Linked DNA regions of Homo sapiens: region 2 is linked to region 1. Evidence: promoter capture Hi-C in 16 types of primary human blood cells and fetal thymus (Javierre and others, 2016). All regions are on one chromosome and are shown on one strand. Each heading gives the region's core, a stretch centred on a gene start or on the middle of the fragment in contact. The rest is flanking DNA. Distances are from core to core; before and after follow the strand shown.

Region 1 (7,697 bases), core at 1,630-4,129:
CTGGTCTCGAACTCCTGACCTCAAGTGATCCACCCACCTCAGCCTCTCAAAGTGCTGGGATTACAGGCGTGAGCCACTGCACCCGGCCCACAAATGTAAATTTTATATATATATACGCATATATACATATTTATTTTCTTTTTTTTTGAGACGGAGTCTCTTGCTTTGTTGCCCAGGCTGCAGTACAGTGGCCCGATCTCAGCTCACTGCAAGCTCTGCCTCCCAGGTCCACGCCATTCTCCTGCCTCAGCCTCCCGAGTAGCTGGGACTACAGGTGCCCACCACCACGCCTGGCTAATTTTTTGTATTTTTAGTAGAGCCGGGGTTTCACCGTGTTAGCTGGGATGGTATTGATCTCCTGAACTCGTGATCTGCCCGCCTCGGCCTCCCAAAGTGTTGGCATTACAGGTGTGAGCCACTGCGCCCAGGCAGCATATGTACATATTTCTATATAGGTATACACATGCAGTGCTAACATTAGTCTTTTAAAAAGGGAGAAATACACATTTATATATTTATATATAATATATATAGAGAGAGTAAATTACTGAAAGTGATGCCTCTAGGTAGTGGGGTATGAAGAGTCTAAGAGGAAGGCCAGGCACAGTGGCTCGCGTCTGTAATTCCAACACTTTGGGAGGCTGAGGCGGGTGGATCGCTTGACGTCAGGAGTTTGAGACCAGCCTGGCCAACATGTTGAAACCCCGTCTCTACCAAAAAATACAAGTTAGCTGGGCGTGGTGGTGCACACCTGTAATCTCAGCTACTTGGGAGGCTGAGGTAGGAGAATCACTTGAACCCGGGAGGCAGAGGTTGCAGTGAGCCAAGATTGCACCACTGCACTCCAGCCAGGGTGACACAGAGAGACCCTGTCCAAAAAAAAAAAGAGTCTAAGAGAAAAAGAAGGTAGATAAATAAACCAAATGATCAAATCTAACTTCAGCAAAACTGCAACGAACTGACATCAGGCACTCTGGAAGGGCCACACTGACAGAGACACAACGTTGCCTCTCACATATTCCTGGTAAAAACATTTAAGCTGAAGCTAATCATGAGGCGAAAATCAGACAAATCCAAATTGAGCGATATTCTGCAAAACACTGGGCTGGATTCTTTAAAAATGTCATTTGGCCTACAGAGGACAGCCAAATAAAAATGAAAATATCATTGTCATGAAAGACACAAAAGGCAGGGACACCATATTAAAAGAGACCAAAGAGATATGACAACAGAATACAATTGGTGATTCTTGATTGGATAGAAAAAATATAAACAACTATAACACATGTTATTGGGATAAATGGAAAAACTGAAATATGGACTGTGTATCAGAGTATTGTATCATTGTTAAATTTTCTAAATGTGTTATTTGTACTGTGATGATGTAGGAGAATGTCCTTGTTCTTGGCAGATAACTGCTGAAAGAAGTGGTGAATTATTAGTAGTCTACAACTAACTCTTGAAAGGTCCAGTGAAAATAAATACATAAATGGGAGAGAGAAAACACCAGAGCGAAAGCGAGCACACAAAAATAAGGCAAAATGGTGCAGCTAAGTGAAGGACGGGTTTATAAATATTCAATGTACTGCTCTTGCAACTTTCCTGTACATCTGAAAATTTTCAAAACAAACAGATGGGAAGAAAAAAATGAATATAGTACAAAATATGTGCAGTATCATAGTCTGCACTGTAAGTAAAAGTGTAAAGTCTTTTGTAGACCTTGGATTCTAACTACAGCTTTGTAGTGCATTAATGAAAAAGGTAAACATTAAACAATATCCAACAAAATAAAATAAAAATAAAAATGCCTTGTAAAGGGTGAATGAGATTAATTATTTTAAATGTTATGCAATGTACACCATTGACAATTAGGATACAATGCAAATTTAACATTATAACTACTCCTAACATAATATTTTCACAGCAAAGGTCTGAATTTTTACTGCACCTCTGGTTCACAACCATAAACAATTATATCTGTACAGTAATAATAATTTTAAAAACATCATTCTAGCTGGTTGCACTTGGATTGTCAATAATCCACAAATCCCACTAAAGAAAATTTTTTACCCGTTACATTTTCTAGAATGACTACCTCATTTCCCAACTTTGAAGTAACAGCTTTTAACTAAAAGGTTGCTTCAAAACTACTATTAAAAAGTGGTTCCTATAAAACACTACTGCTTGACCCAAAAAATAAAATAAAGCACACAGCCCAGCTTTCCTCTCAATTGGTCACTAAACCAGTATCATGAAAAGGCAGGGAGCCACGCTGTAAGCGCTCCCCCGTTTTCTGCCGAATGTTCAGGAAAAGAGTGTCAGGTTCAAGCCAGCATTTAAAATAAAATAAAATGAATCACAGTCAACTCCCTAAACTCCAATGTAAGAACCACGCACCTGCACCAAAATATGCCTGAGCGGGAACTCGAGTCGGCTCTCCGAGACCCCAAAGTTCCCAACCTAGCCCCAACCCCTCAAGCTTCCCCCAGGGGCACCGGCTTCTCACAGCCGAGGGGGATTCGGGGCCCACATGCGGAGCCTCCCGGGCCTGTCGAGCCACGGCAGAAGGCGACGACGCCCGGCCCCACAGGCCCCTCAAGCTCCTCAAGCTCCCCCAGTCCCTCCCTCCCCCGCCACTCGCTCTCCAGTCCCTGCCCCTTTCCCCGGCCCCACTCACTCTTCATCTTGGATGCGGAAGCCGGTGACAACCCCTTGCCGACACTGGACGGAAAAGAAAGAAGCAGGAAGGTTGTCCCCCTGCTTTCCACTTCCCTGAGGCGGGGTCCCGCACTAGGATCTCCGTGGTGGTCCCTCGAAGGAGAGCGTTAGAGATCCCGCCGCCATGTTGTGTCCCTGTCACCCTAGCAACCGTCAGGCCCTGAACGCCATGAGCTGTCGCCTGCGCATGCGCAAGATGCCCCGCCCATGTACGCGTGCGCAGTGCAGCCCGTCCCCTCAGCCCGGTTGCTAAGCAGCCTTTCCTCCGCTTCCATGTAAATACTGTGCAAATCCCCGCCTTTGACACAGGCGACCTTCGCTCGGCTCGCTCTCCCTGCTGGCCTGGGAACTTAGCGATTTGGAACCCACTACGTGGACGATAGCCTTGAGCTTTAATTGGGCTTGGGAGCTTCTACAGGAATTTTTTTTTTTTTTTGAGACAGAGTGTCGCTCTGTTACCCAGGTTGGGGTGCAATGGCGTGATCTCGGCTCACTGCAACCTCCGCCTCCCGGCTTCAAGCGATTCTCCTGCCTCAGCCTCCCAAGTAGCTGGGATTACAGGCACCCACCACTACACCCGGCTAATGTTTTTGTATTTTTAGTAGAGACGGGGTTTCACCATGTTAGGCTGGTCTCGAACTCCTGACCTCAGGTGATCCGCCTGCCTCGGCCTCCCGAAGTGCTGGGATTACAGGCGTGAGCCACCACGCCCGGCCCAGTTTTTCTTTTTAATTCAACAAGCATTTGTTTTTGCCCCAGGAACTGTCGCAGGTATTGGGGATTAAAGGACAGTGTAGACGAGGTGACTGAGTTCTTGAAACTAACATTCTAGTGTAAAGATGAATGAATGTACACCGGAATGAACTATGTGCAGACACGGTGCCTAAGCAACACAGTGGCCTAGTTCTCTGGACCCTGACAAAACAATAAAATAACAAGCATACTATGTATGGGTATAGTATTTTATGAAGCTCATTAGATTAGCCTCATAATTATTCCATGAGATCAAAACCCTGTTTTTTCCTCCATTTTTTTTCTTTTACTAAAATACATCGTTTATTTTTAAAACAGATAAGTAGCCTTGCCAAAACGAAGCCTCAGAAAATTGGTTTAAGACTGAATTGGCCAGGTGTGGTGGCTCACACCTGTAATCCCAGCACTTTGGAAGGCCGAGGCAAGAGGATCGCTTGAGGCCAGAAATTCAAGACCAGCCTGGGCAACATAGAGAAACCCCACTTCCCTCTTAAAAAAAAAAAAAAAAAAACTCCGGGCGTGGTGGCTCACGCCTGTAATCCCAGCACTTTGGGAGGCCAAGGCGGGCAGATCACGAGGTCAGGAAATCGAGACCATCCTGGCTAACACGGTGAAACCCCATCTCTACTAAAAATACAAAAAAAATTAGCCGGGCGTAGTGGCGGGCGCTATAGTTCCAGCTACTCCGGGGGCTGAGGCAGGAGAATGGCGTGAACCCTGGAGGCGGAGCTTGCAGTGAGCCGAGATTGCACCACCTGCACTGCAGCCTGGGCGACAGAGCAAGAGACTCAAAAAAAAAAAAAAAAAAAAAAAAAAGCCGGGCACGGTGGCACATGCCTGTAAACCCAGCTATTCAGGAGAATAAGGCGGAGGTATCTTGAGACCAGGAGTTCTAGGCTCAGTGAGCTATGATAGCACCACTGCACTCTAGCCTGGGTGACAAAGCAAGACCTTGTCTCGAAAGAAAGAGAAAGCGGCCGGTCGCGGTGGCTCACACCTGCAATCCCAGCACGTTGGGCGGCCGAGGCAGGCAGATCACTTGAGTCCAGGAGTTCGAGACCAGCCTGGCCAACATGGGGGAAACCCCGTCTCTACTAAAAAAATACAAAACGGCTGGGCACAGTGGCTGATGCCTGTAATCCCAGCACTTTGGGAGGCCAAGGCGGGTGGATCCCCAGGTCAGGAGTTCAAGACTAGCCTGGCCAAGATGGTGAAACCCCATCTCTACTGAAAATAGAAAAATGAGCCGGGTGTGGTGGCAGGCACCTGTAATCCCAGCTACTCGGGAGGCTGAGGCAGAGAATTGCTTGAACCCGGGAGGCGGAGGTTGCAGTGAGCCGAGATTGCGCCACTGCACTCCAGCCTGGGCGACAGAGTGAGACTCCGTCTAAAAAAGCAAATACATAAATAAAATACAAAACAAGCCAGGCGTGGTGGCTCACACCTATAATCCCAGCACTTTGGGAGGCCGAGGAGGATGGACCAACTGAGGTCAGGAATTCGAGACCAGCTGGCCAACCAACATGGTGAAACCCTGTCACTACTAAAAATACAAAAATTAGCCAGGTGTGGTGATGCGCTCCTGTAATCCCAGCTACTCAGGAGGCTGAGGCGGGAGAATCACTTGAACCCAGGAGGTGGAGGCTACAGTGAGTCGAGATCCTGCCACTACACTCCAGTCTGGGCGACAGAGCAAGACTCCATCTCAAAAAATAATAAATAAATAAATGGTTACAATGGTGAATTTTATGTAAATTTTCTCTCAATAAAAAAGTTGAAAAAATAAATAGCGATTATTGCTGGTGTATTATTGTTGGTGGTGCTATCTTTGTTGGCTTTGAGAAGCCACATCTAATCTCTCCAGACCACTAGGATTTGATCTATCCCTTCTTCTCTTCTTGTGTTCTTTCTTATTTGGGGGCTTGCCCTTATGTCACATTTATATTTCTAACCCTGTCTCTTGCTTGTTAGTTTCTTCTAACCAGGTGGGTTCTAAGTTCCTTGGGCCCCTCATGTGTCTTTTCTCTACCCTGCAGGGCAGAGTGTATTAAATAAGTGAACAGGTGAATGCATTTAGCAAGTGAGAGCCCCATTGTTTCCCAATTCACCAGGTGCTGATGGATTTTCTTCTTCCCTTCATTGTGGACAAGTGGTTCTCAGAAGTGACGTTGTAGAGACCATGTTGGTCCTGATTGGGCAGATGATTTAGAGCAAGGTGCCCCCAGGGGGTAGACACAGTCTATGTGCTTACCTAGGTGAACAGGGGCAGCTGGACTTGCGGCCTCACCTGCCCCTCTGGCTGAGCACCCTTGTTCCAAGTTCATCTTAAGGTTGGGTGAGGGGACGAACTCCAGAATGTTCCATTCGATCAGGGATTTCCGCCCCATTATTTCTAAATCTGTAAGTCTGGAGTGGGGGATAGTTTGCAGCTCTCACAAAATTCCAGGTGATGCTGCACCAGTGGCCATATTTTGAAAACCACTGGCCTAGAGAATTCCTTATTCTTTCTTTAATTCTAAATGAAATAGGAAATGCTGCTTTGAAAAGAAGGAACAATTGCTGAGGAGCTTCTCTTCCTGTGGTAAACACGCTCAAACATCAGCGGAGGGGTCAACCTGTTCAGGCTTCAGCTGGGTGGCCTCAGCACCTGCCTAGCTGGGCCACTCCAGCCCTGAATGGACAGATAAGTAAGAAGTACCAGGCTGTGAACTCCTCCAGAGAGGGTCTTCACCCCAAGCCTCTCACCTGCCCAGCTCACCCAGAGCCAGGAGCCTGCTCAGCACATATTACATGCTCAGGAAACGCTTGTGAAATGGAACCACCACGCATCTCAGAGCTCTGCTTTTTTTTTTTATTAAGTTATTATTTTTAAATTTTTTTTTTTGAGACAGAGTCTTGCTCTGTCACGCAGGCTGGAGTACTGTGGCTTGATCTCGGCTCACTACAACCTCTGCCTCCCAGGTTCAAGCAATTCTCCTGTCTCAGCCTCCCAAGTAGCTGGGACTACAGGCACGTGCCACCACACCTGGCTAATTTTTGTATTTTTAGTAGAGATGGGGTTTCACCATATTGGTCAGGCTGGTCTCGAACTCCTGACCTCAGGTGATTCACCTGCCTCAGCCTCCCAAAGTGCTGGGATTACAGGCGTTAGCCACCGCGCCCAGTTCCAGAGCTCCGCTTTTAAAACTGTATGAACACTACCTAATTATAACCACTTGAGCTTTTTGAATCGTTCTAAAACTCCCTCAGACTGTTCATCCCATATTCTAGCATTAGTTTTTCCCTATTTGCCAATGTCAAGGGATTCAGCCATGTGGCTATGTTTAGCAGACAACCTATTTCCTTCTGCTGAGCATCTGAATTAAGGTTCAAACCAGGAAACAAGTCAGAAAAGCTAGGGATGACAGACATTTCAAACGTGTTAACACTGTTAAAGTGGGTAAAACGCAAATCTACCTAAAGATATTAGAAATTAGATTGATTTTGTAAAATAATAAACACATCTCAGGGAAAACTAAGCTTGAACAAGGATATTAAATAAGGAGGAGCAAAAACATTAGCCACTGAAATTAACATGAAGGATGGTAGTTAACCAAGCACTCTAGAAATTAGATCCTGGTCTAGTGTGGATGCAAAAATAGGTAAAATTCTGTCTACGAAGAAGTCTGTGTAGGTTTCTGAGAAAAAGGAACTCAAAGAAATACATTTAGAATTTTTTAAGTGTAAGAAAAGGTTTCCTGGCCAGGAATAGTGGCTCACACCTGTAATCCCAGCACTTTAGGAGGCCGAGGCAAGCGGATGGCTTGAGCTCAGGGGTTCGAGACCAGCCGAGGCAACATGGTGAAACCCCTTATCTACTAAAAATACAAAAAATTAGCTGGGCTTGGTGGCAGGTGCCTGCAGTCCCAGCTACTCAGAAGCCTAAAGTGGGAGAATCACCTGAGCCTGGGAAATCGAGGCTGCAATAAGCCATGTTTGCACCACTGACCTCCAGCCTGGGCAACAGGAGAGAGCCGTTGTCTCAAAAAATAACAATAATAATACAAAAAATACAAAAATTGGCCAGGCGCGGTGGCTCATGCCTGTAATCCCAGCACTTTGGGAGGCTGAGGCCGGCAGATCACAAGGTCAGGAGTTCAAGACCAGCCTGGCCAAGATGGTGAAACCCTGTCTCTACTAAAACTATAAAAAAATTAGCCAGGCGTGGTGGTGGGCACCTGTAATCC
Region 2 (7,697 bases), core at 2,082-4,581, 600 kb before region 1:
TATTATTAGATCTAAAGAGAGAGATAGACCCCAATACAATAATAGCTGGAGACTTTAATGCCCCACTTTCAGCATTGGACAGATCATCCAGAGAGAAAATCAACAAACAAACATCAGACTTAATCTGCACCATAGAACAGAAGAACCTAACAGATATTTACAGAACATATCATCCAATAGCTCCAGAATACACACTCTTCTCCTCAGCACATGGATCATGCTCAATGATAGACCATATGTTAGGTTACAAAACAAATCTTTAAAATTTCAAAGAAACTGAAATTATATCAAGTATATTCTCTGCCCACAATGGAACAAAACTAGAAATCAATAACAAGAGAAACTTTGGAAACTGTACAAACACATGGAAATTAAACAATATGTTCTTGAATGACCAGCAGGTCAATGAAGAAATTAAGATGAAAATTTAAAATTTTCTTGAAGAAATGACAATAGAAACACAACATACCAAAACCTATGGGATACAGCCAAAACAATACTCAAAGGAGGGTTTACAGCAATAAGCACCTACATCAAAAAAGCAGAAAAATTTCAAATAAACAACCTAATATTGCATCTTAAAGAACTGCAAAAGCAAGAGCAAACAAACCCAAAATTAGTAGAAGAAAGAAAGAATAAAAATCAGAGCAGAAATAAATGAAATTGAAATAAAAAATGTACAAAAGATCAATAAAACAAAAAGTTGGCTTTTTGAAAAGATAAACAAAACCAACAAACCCTTAACCAGACTAAGAAAAAAAGAAAGATGACCCAAATAAATAAAATCAGAGATGAAAAAGGAGACATTACACCTGATACCGCAGAAATTCAAAGGATGATTAGAGACTACTATGATCAACTATATGCCAATAAATTGAAAAACCTAGAAGAAATGGATAAGTTCCTAGACACATACAATCTACAAAGATTGAGCCATGAAGAAATCCAAAATGTGAATAGATCAATAACAAGTAATGAGATCAAAGCCGTAATAATAAAAAAAAAATCTCCGAGCAAAGCAAAACCCAGGACCCAATGGCTTCACTGCTAAATCTTACCAAACATTTAAAGAAGAACTAATACCAATCCTACTCAAAGTATTCCAAAAAACAGAGGAAGAGAGAATACTTCCAAACTCATTCTATGAGGCCAGTATTACCCTGATATGAAAACCAGACAAAGACACATGAAAAAAAGAAAATTACAGGCCAATATCCCCAATGAACATTGATGCGAAAATACTCAACACAATACCAGCAAACAAATTCAGCAGCACATTAAAAAGATCATTCATCATGACCAAGTGGGATTTATCCCAAGACTGCATGCATGGAACAACATACACAGGTCAATCGATGTGATAGATCATATCAGCATAATAAAGGAGAAAAACCATATGATCATTTCAACTGATGCTGAAAAAGCATTTGATAAAATTCCATATCCTTTCATGATTTGAAAAAAAAAACTCAAAAACTGGGTATAAAAGGCACATGCCTCAACACAATAAAAAGCATGGCTTTCATGTTGAGATATGTTCCTTCTATACCCAGTTTTTGCATCCTTCAACTTTCATATATAATATATATGTATATATATATATATATATATATATATATATATATATATATATATATATAAGTTGATCATACTAATATCATAGTGAATGCGGAAAAATGAAAGCCTTTTCTCTAAGATCTGGAACAAGACAAGGATGCCCACTTTCATCGCTGTTATTCAACATAGTACTGGAAGTCCTAGCTAGAGTAATCAGACAAAAGAAAGAAATAAAAGGCATTCAAAATGGAAAGGAAGAAGTGAAATTATTTTTATTTGCAGATAATATGATCTTATACTTGAAAAAAACGAAAGACTCCACCAAAAGGCTATTAGAACTGATAAACAAATTTAGTAAAGTTGCAGAATACAAAATCAACATACAAAAATCAGTAGCATTTTTATATGCTAACAGCAAACAATCTGAAAAAGAAATCAAGAAAGTAATCCCATTTACAATAGCTACAAATTAAACAAAATACCTAGGAATAAACTTAACCAAGGAAGTGAAAAATCTTTACAATAAAAACTTTTATGCAAGATATTGAAGAGGACACCAAAAAATGGAAAGATATTCCATGTTCATGGATTAGAAGAATCAATATTATTAAAATGTCCATGCTACCCAAAGCAATCTACAGATTCAGTGCAATCTCTATTAAAGTACTAATGAAATTCCTCACAGAAATAGAAAAAAAATCCTAAAATTTATATGGGACCACAAAAGGCCCAGAACAGTCAGAACCATCATGAGGAAAAAAAAAAAAAAAAAAAAACTGGAGGAATCCCATTACCTGATTTTAAATTATACTACAGAGCTATAGCAATGAAGTAACAAAAACAGGATGGTACTGACATAAAAACAGACACATAGACCAATGGAACAGAATAGAGAACCCAGAAATAAATCCATACAGCCACAGTGAACTCATTTTCAACAAAGCTTTCAAGAACATGTATTGAGAAAGGGATTGTCTCGTCAGTAAATTGTGCTGGGAAAACTGGATGTTCATATGCAGAAGAATGAAACCAGATCGCTCTCTCACCATACACAAAAATCAAATCAAAATGGATTAAAGACTTAAATCTAAAACCTGAAACTATGAAACTACTAAAAGAAAACATAGGAGAAACTCTCCAGGACATTGGTACGAACAAAGATTTCTTGAGTAATACTTCACAGGCACAGGCAACCGAAGCAAAAAATGGACAAATGGAATCACATTTTAAAAAATCACATCATTAAAAAGCTTCTGCATAGCAAAGGAAACTAGCAACAAAGTGAAGAGACAATCCACAGAATGAGAGAAAATATTTGCAAACTATCCATCTGACAAGGGATTAATAACCAGAATATATAAGGAGCTCAAACAATTCAATAGGAAAAAAAATCTAACAATTTGATTTAAAATGGGCAAAAGATTGAATAGACATTTCTCAAAAGAATACATCCAAATGGCAAACAGCTATGTGAACAGGTGCTCAACATCACTGATCATCAGGGAAACACAAATCAAAACTCCAATGAGACATCATCTCATACTAGTTAAAATAGCTTTTATCTAAAAGGCAGGAAATAATGAATGCTGGAGTGTTGAGAAAGGGAACCCTCGTACACTGTTGGTGGGAATGTAAATTAGTGCAGCCACTTGGAAAACAACATGGAGCTTCCTCAGAAAACTAAAAATAGACAGGGCGCAGTGGCTCCTGCCTGCAATCCCAGCACTTTGGGAGGCCAAGGCGGGTGGATCACCTGAGGTCAGGAGTTCGAGACCAGCGTGGCCAACACAACGAAACCCTGTCTCTACTAAAAATGCAAAAAATAGCCGGGCATGGCGGTGCGTGCCTGTGATCCCAGCTACTCAGGAGGCTGAGGCAGGAGAATCTCTTGAACCTGGGAGGTGGAGGTTGCAGTGAGCCAAGATCATACCACTGCACTCCACCCTGGGCAACAGAACGAGATTCCATCCCAAAAAAGAAAAAAATAATCAAAAAACAAAAAGAAAACTAAGAATAGAACTACCATAGGATCCAGCAATCCCACTGATAGGGATATACCTAAAAGAAAGTAAATCAGTAAATCAAAGAGATGTCTGCACTCTCATGCATTGCAGCACTATTCACAATATCCAAGATTTGGAACCGAGGTGTCCATCAACAAAAGAATAAATAAAATGTGGTACATATGCACAATGGAGTACTATTCAGCCATAGAAAAGAATGAGATTCTGTCATTTGCAACCACATGGATGGAAATGGAGGACATTATGTTAAGTAAAATAAGCCAGGCACAGAAAGACAAGCTTTACATGTTCTCACTCATTTGTGGGAGCTAAAAATTAAAACCATGGAATTCATGGAGATGAGAGTAGAATGATGGTTACTGGAGGCTGGGAAGGGTAGAAAGGGGTGGAGGGTAGGGACAGTTAAGGAGTACAAAGATATATTCAGATAGAATGAATAAGATATAGTATTTGATAGCACAACAGGGTGACTAAAGTCAACAATAATGTATTAAATATTTTTAAAATAACTAAAAGAGTATAATTGGATTGTTTGTAACACCAAAAAAATGATAAATGCTTGAAGTGATGAACACCCCATTTCCCCTGATGTGATTATTACAAATTGCATGCCTGTATCAAAATATCTCATGTACCGCATAGATACATACACTGCTATGTACCCACAAAAATTAAAAATAAAGATAAATGAATAAGATATAAAAAGCAATAGGGGAAACTGAATGAAGGGCATATGAGAAACTCTTTGTGTCATCTTTGCAACTTCTCTGTAAATCTAAAAAAAAAAATCAGAGTAATTCACTACTTGTGATGGTTAATTTTATGTATCAACTTGACTGAGCCACAGGTGGCTCAGATATTTAGCCAAACATTATTCTAAGTATGTCTGTGAGGGTGTTTCTGGATGAGATTAACATTTCAATCAGTAGACTGAGCACAACAGATTGCCCTCCCCAATGTGGGTGGACCTCACCCAATCAACTGAAGACTTAAGTAGAATAAAAAGATTGAGTAAGAGGGAATGCCTCCTACCAGACTTGTTGACCTGAGACATTGGTCTTGCAGGCTTTTGGGCTCAGAGAGAAACATAACTCTTCTTAGGTCTTGAGGCTGCTGGCCTTTGGATCAGCAGCTCTCCTGGTTCTCCACCTTGCCCACTGCAAATCTTGGGACTTCTCAGCCTCCATTATCACATGAGCCAATTCCTTATAGCAAATCTATATCTATCTAACTATCTATCTATCTATCTATCTATCTAATATGGTTTGGCTCTGTGTCCCTGCCCAAATCTCATCTTGTAGCCCTACCAGGGCACTGCCTAGTGGAGCTGTGAGAAGAGGGCCACCATCCTCCAGATCCCAGAATGGTAGATCTACTGACAGCTTGCACCATGTGCCTGGAAAAGCTGCAGACACTCAACACCAGCCCATGAAAGCAGCCAGGAGGGAGGCTGCACCCTGCAAAGGGGCGGAGCTGCTGAAGACTATGGGAACCTACCTCTTGCATCCACATGACCTGGATGTAAGACGTGGACTCAAAGGAGATCATTTTGGAGCTTTAAGATTTGACTGCCATGCTGGATTTTGGACTTGCATGGGGCCTGTAGCCTCTCTGTTTTGGCCAATTTCTCCCATTTGGAATGGTTGTATTTACCCAGTGCCTATACCTTCATTGTATCTAGGGGCAGAATGATATGGTTTGGCTCTGTGTCCCCACCAAAATCTCATATTGTAGCTCCCATAATTCCCACGTGTTGTGGGAGGTACGCAGTGGGAGATGATTGAATTATGGGGCAGGTCTTTCCCATGCTGTTTCATGATAGTGAATGAGTCTCATGAGATCTGATGGTTTTGAAAACAGGAGTTGTCCTGCACAAGCTCTCTCTCTTTGTTTGCTGCCATCCACATAAAATGTGACTTGCTCCTCCTTGCCTTCCTCCAGGATTGTGAGGCCTCCCCAGCCATGTGGAACAGTAAGTCCAATAAACCTCTTTCTTTTGTAAATTGCCCAGTCTCAGGTATGTCTTCATCAGCAGAATGAAAATAGACTAATTATCTATCTATCTATCTATCTATCTATCTACCTACCTATCTATATCTATCCACCTATACCTATATCTATCTATCTATATCTCTCTATCTACCTATCCTATTAGTTCTGTTTCTCTCTGAAAAACCCTAACTAATACACCATATTCACAGAAAGAAAAAAATGAGAAAACTCCCATGATTATCTCAATAGATGCAGAGAAGGCATTTAACAAAATTAATGATTAAAAACTCTTAGAAAACTAAGAATAAAATAACACTTCCATGATCTGAAAAAGAAGTCTACAGAAACCATCATAGGAATTGGTAAAATGTTGAAAGTTTTCTCCCTGAAACCAAGAACAAGACAAAGATGTCCATTATCACCACCTCTATTCAATATTGTATTGAAGGTCTTAGTCAGTGTAGAAGGACAAAGAATGGAGATGAAAGGCATCCACGTAGAAAAGAAAACTATAAAACTGTTATTATTTGCAAATAACATGATTGTGTTATTAGAAAATCCAAATGAACCTACCAATAAATGATTTTCAGTAATAAGTGCATTTAGCAGCATTGCCGTATACAAGGTCAATATACAAAAATCACTTGTATTTCTACATGCCAGCAACAAATGTTAGAAACTTAGAAAAGCTTTTGAAAAACATAAAACACTCTTAGGTGAATGAATATAATGAAAGATGTATAAGACTTCTATGCTGAAAACTACAAAACACTATTAAGGGAAATTAAACCCTAAATAAATAAAGAATATATACTATGTTAATCATTGAAAGGCTCATTATTTTTAGATGTGAAATTCTCCCCAAAATCATTTAAATATTTCATATAATCACATCCAATTCCCAGGAGAAGTCGCTTTTGGTGGAAAATGATAACCTAACTCTAAAATGTGTATGAAAATGCAAAGGCTGAGAATAACCAAGGTGATCCTGAAGAAGGAGGAGGCAGACGATGAGGATGAGAAGGAGAAAACTGAAGGTAATTAAGACACTGTGATATTGGTACAAAGGTAGAAATATAAACCAACAGAAAAAGAGTTTAGAAACTGATTCGAAAATATACAATCCCCTGATTTATGACAAGGACACAGGAGAACACTGGAGATGTGAGGGTCTTGTCAGTAAATGCTGGTGTTAATTGGATATATATTTGGGAAAAAAAAAAAAGGTATCTTCACCCCCTAACTCAAATCATGTCTAACAATTGAGGTAGGAGGTGGTATTAGACTCTGGAGGTGAGGCTCAGACACCAGACCAAATTGAGGACTAGCTAAAACAGGTCTAGGGCCAAAGCACCTCCACATAAGACACACCCACCAGTGTGCCACGCCAGTGTACCATTGCCATGGCAACACCAGGGATTTACCACCCCTTTCCGTAGCAACAACCTGATAACCCAGAAGTTACCGCTCTCATCCTAGAAATCTCTGTATAAACTACCCCTTAATTTGCATATAATTAAGCATGGGTATAAATATGAGTGCAGACCTGCCTCTGAGCTGCTGCTCTGGGCTCACTGTCTAAGGGGTGGCCCTGCTCTGCAAGGGGCAGTCCCTCTGCCACTGCTGTGCATTGCTGCTTCAATAAACGTTGCTGGCTAACACCACCAGCTCACCCTTGAATTCTTACCTGGAGGAAGCCAGGAACCCCCCAGGGCTAAGCCCCAATTTGGGGGCTTGCTTATCCTGTATCACAATCTATTCTAGACAGATTGTAGATGTAAATAGTAAAGATGTTTTTAGAAAAGTTTTCTCTTTTGTTTTCAATTGAGTTAGTTTCTGCTCTCATATGGTTTTTCTGTTTGTTTTTTGGTGGTTTTTGTTTTGTTTTGTTTTGTTTTGTTTTTGAGACAGGGTCTTGCTCTGTTGCCCAGGCTGGAGTGCGATGGCACGATCTCAGCTCACTGCAACTGCCGCCTCCTGGGTTCCAGTGATTCTCCTGCCTCAGCCACCTGAGTAGCTGGGGTTATAGGAGTGTGCCATCGTGCCCAACTAACTTGGGGTTTTTTTTTGTTTTTGTTTAAGACAGAGTCTCACTCTGTTGCCCAGGCTGGAGTGCAGTGGCAC

Evidence for each region. Contacts are between HindIII fragments. The CHiCAGO score rates a contact against its expected background, and 5 or more counts as called.
Region 2: a contact is called between a fragment that was not itself captured here and the fragment with the promoter of MOK in region 1, in 1 of 17 cell types (naive B cells). The highest score is 6.2, in naive B cells.

What each region holds. Positions count from the first base shown.
Region 1 is chr14:102,302,285-102,309,981 of GRCh38, forward strand. MOK (MOK protein kinase) reads right to left here and starts at 2,880. Exons shown (of 12, transcript NM_014226.3): 1 at 2,678-2,880. The coding sequence starts at 2,684. RefSeq lists enhancers at 2,761-3,283, 3,050-3,099. The HindIII fragment of the contact is 4,511 bases long and covers 2,478-6,988 here.
Region 2 is chr14:101,697,332-101,705,028 of GRCh38, forward strand. The region is part of intron 1 of LINC02320 (long intergenic non-protein coding RNA 2320); the gene reads right to left. Among named protein-coding and RNA genes, the nearest start is that of LINC00239, 29 kb to the right of the region's middle. The HindIII fragment of the contact is 1,053 bases long and covers 2,806-3,858 here.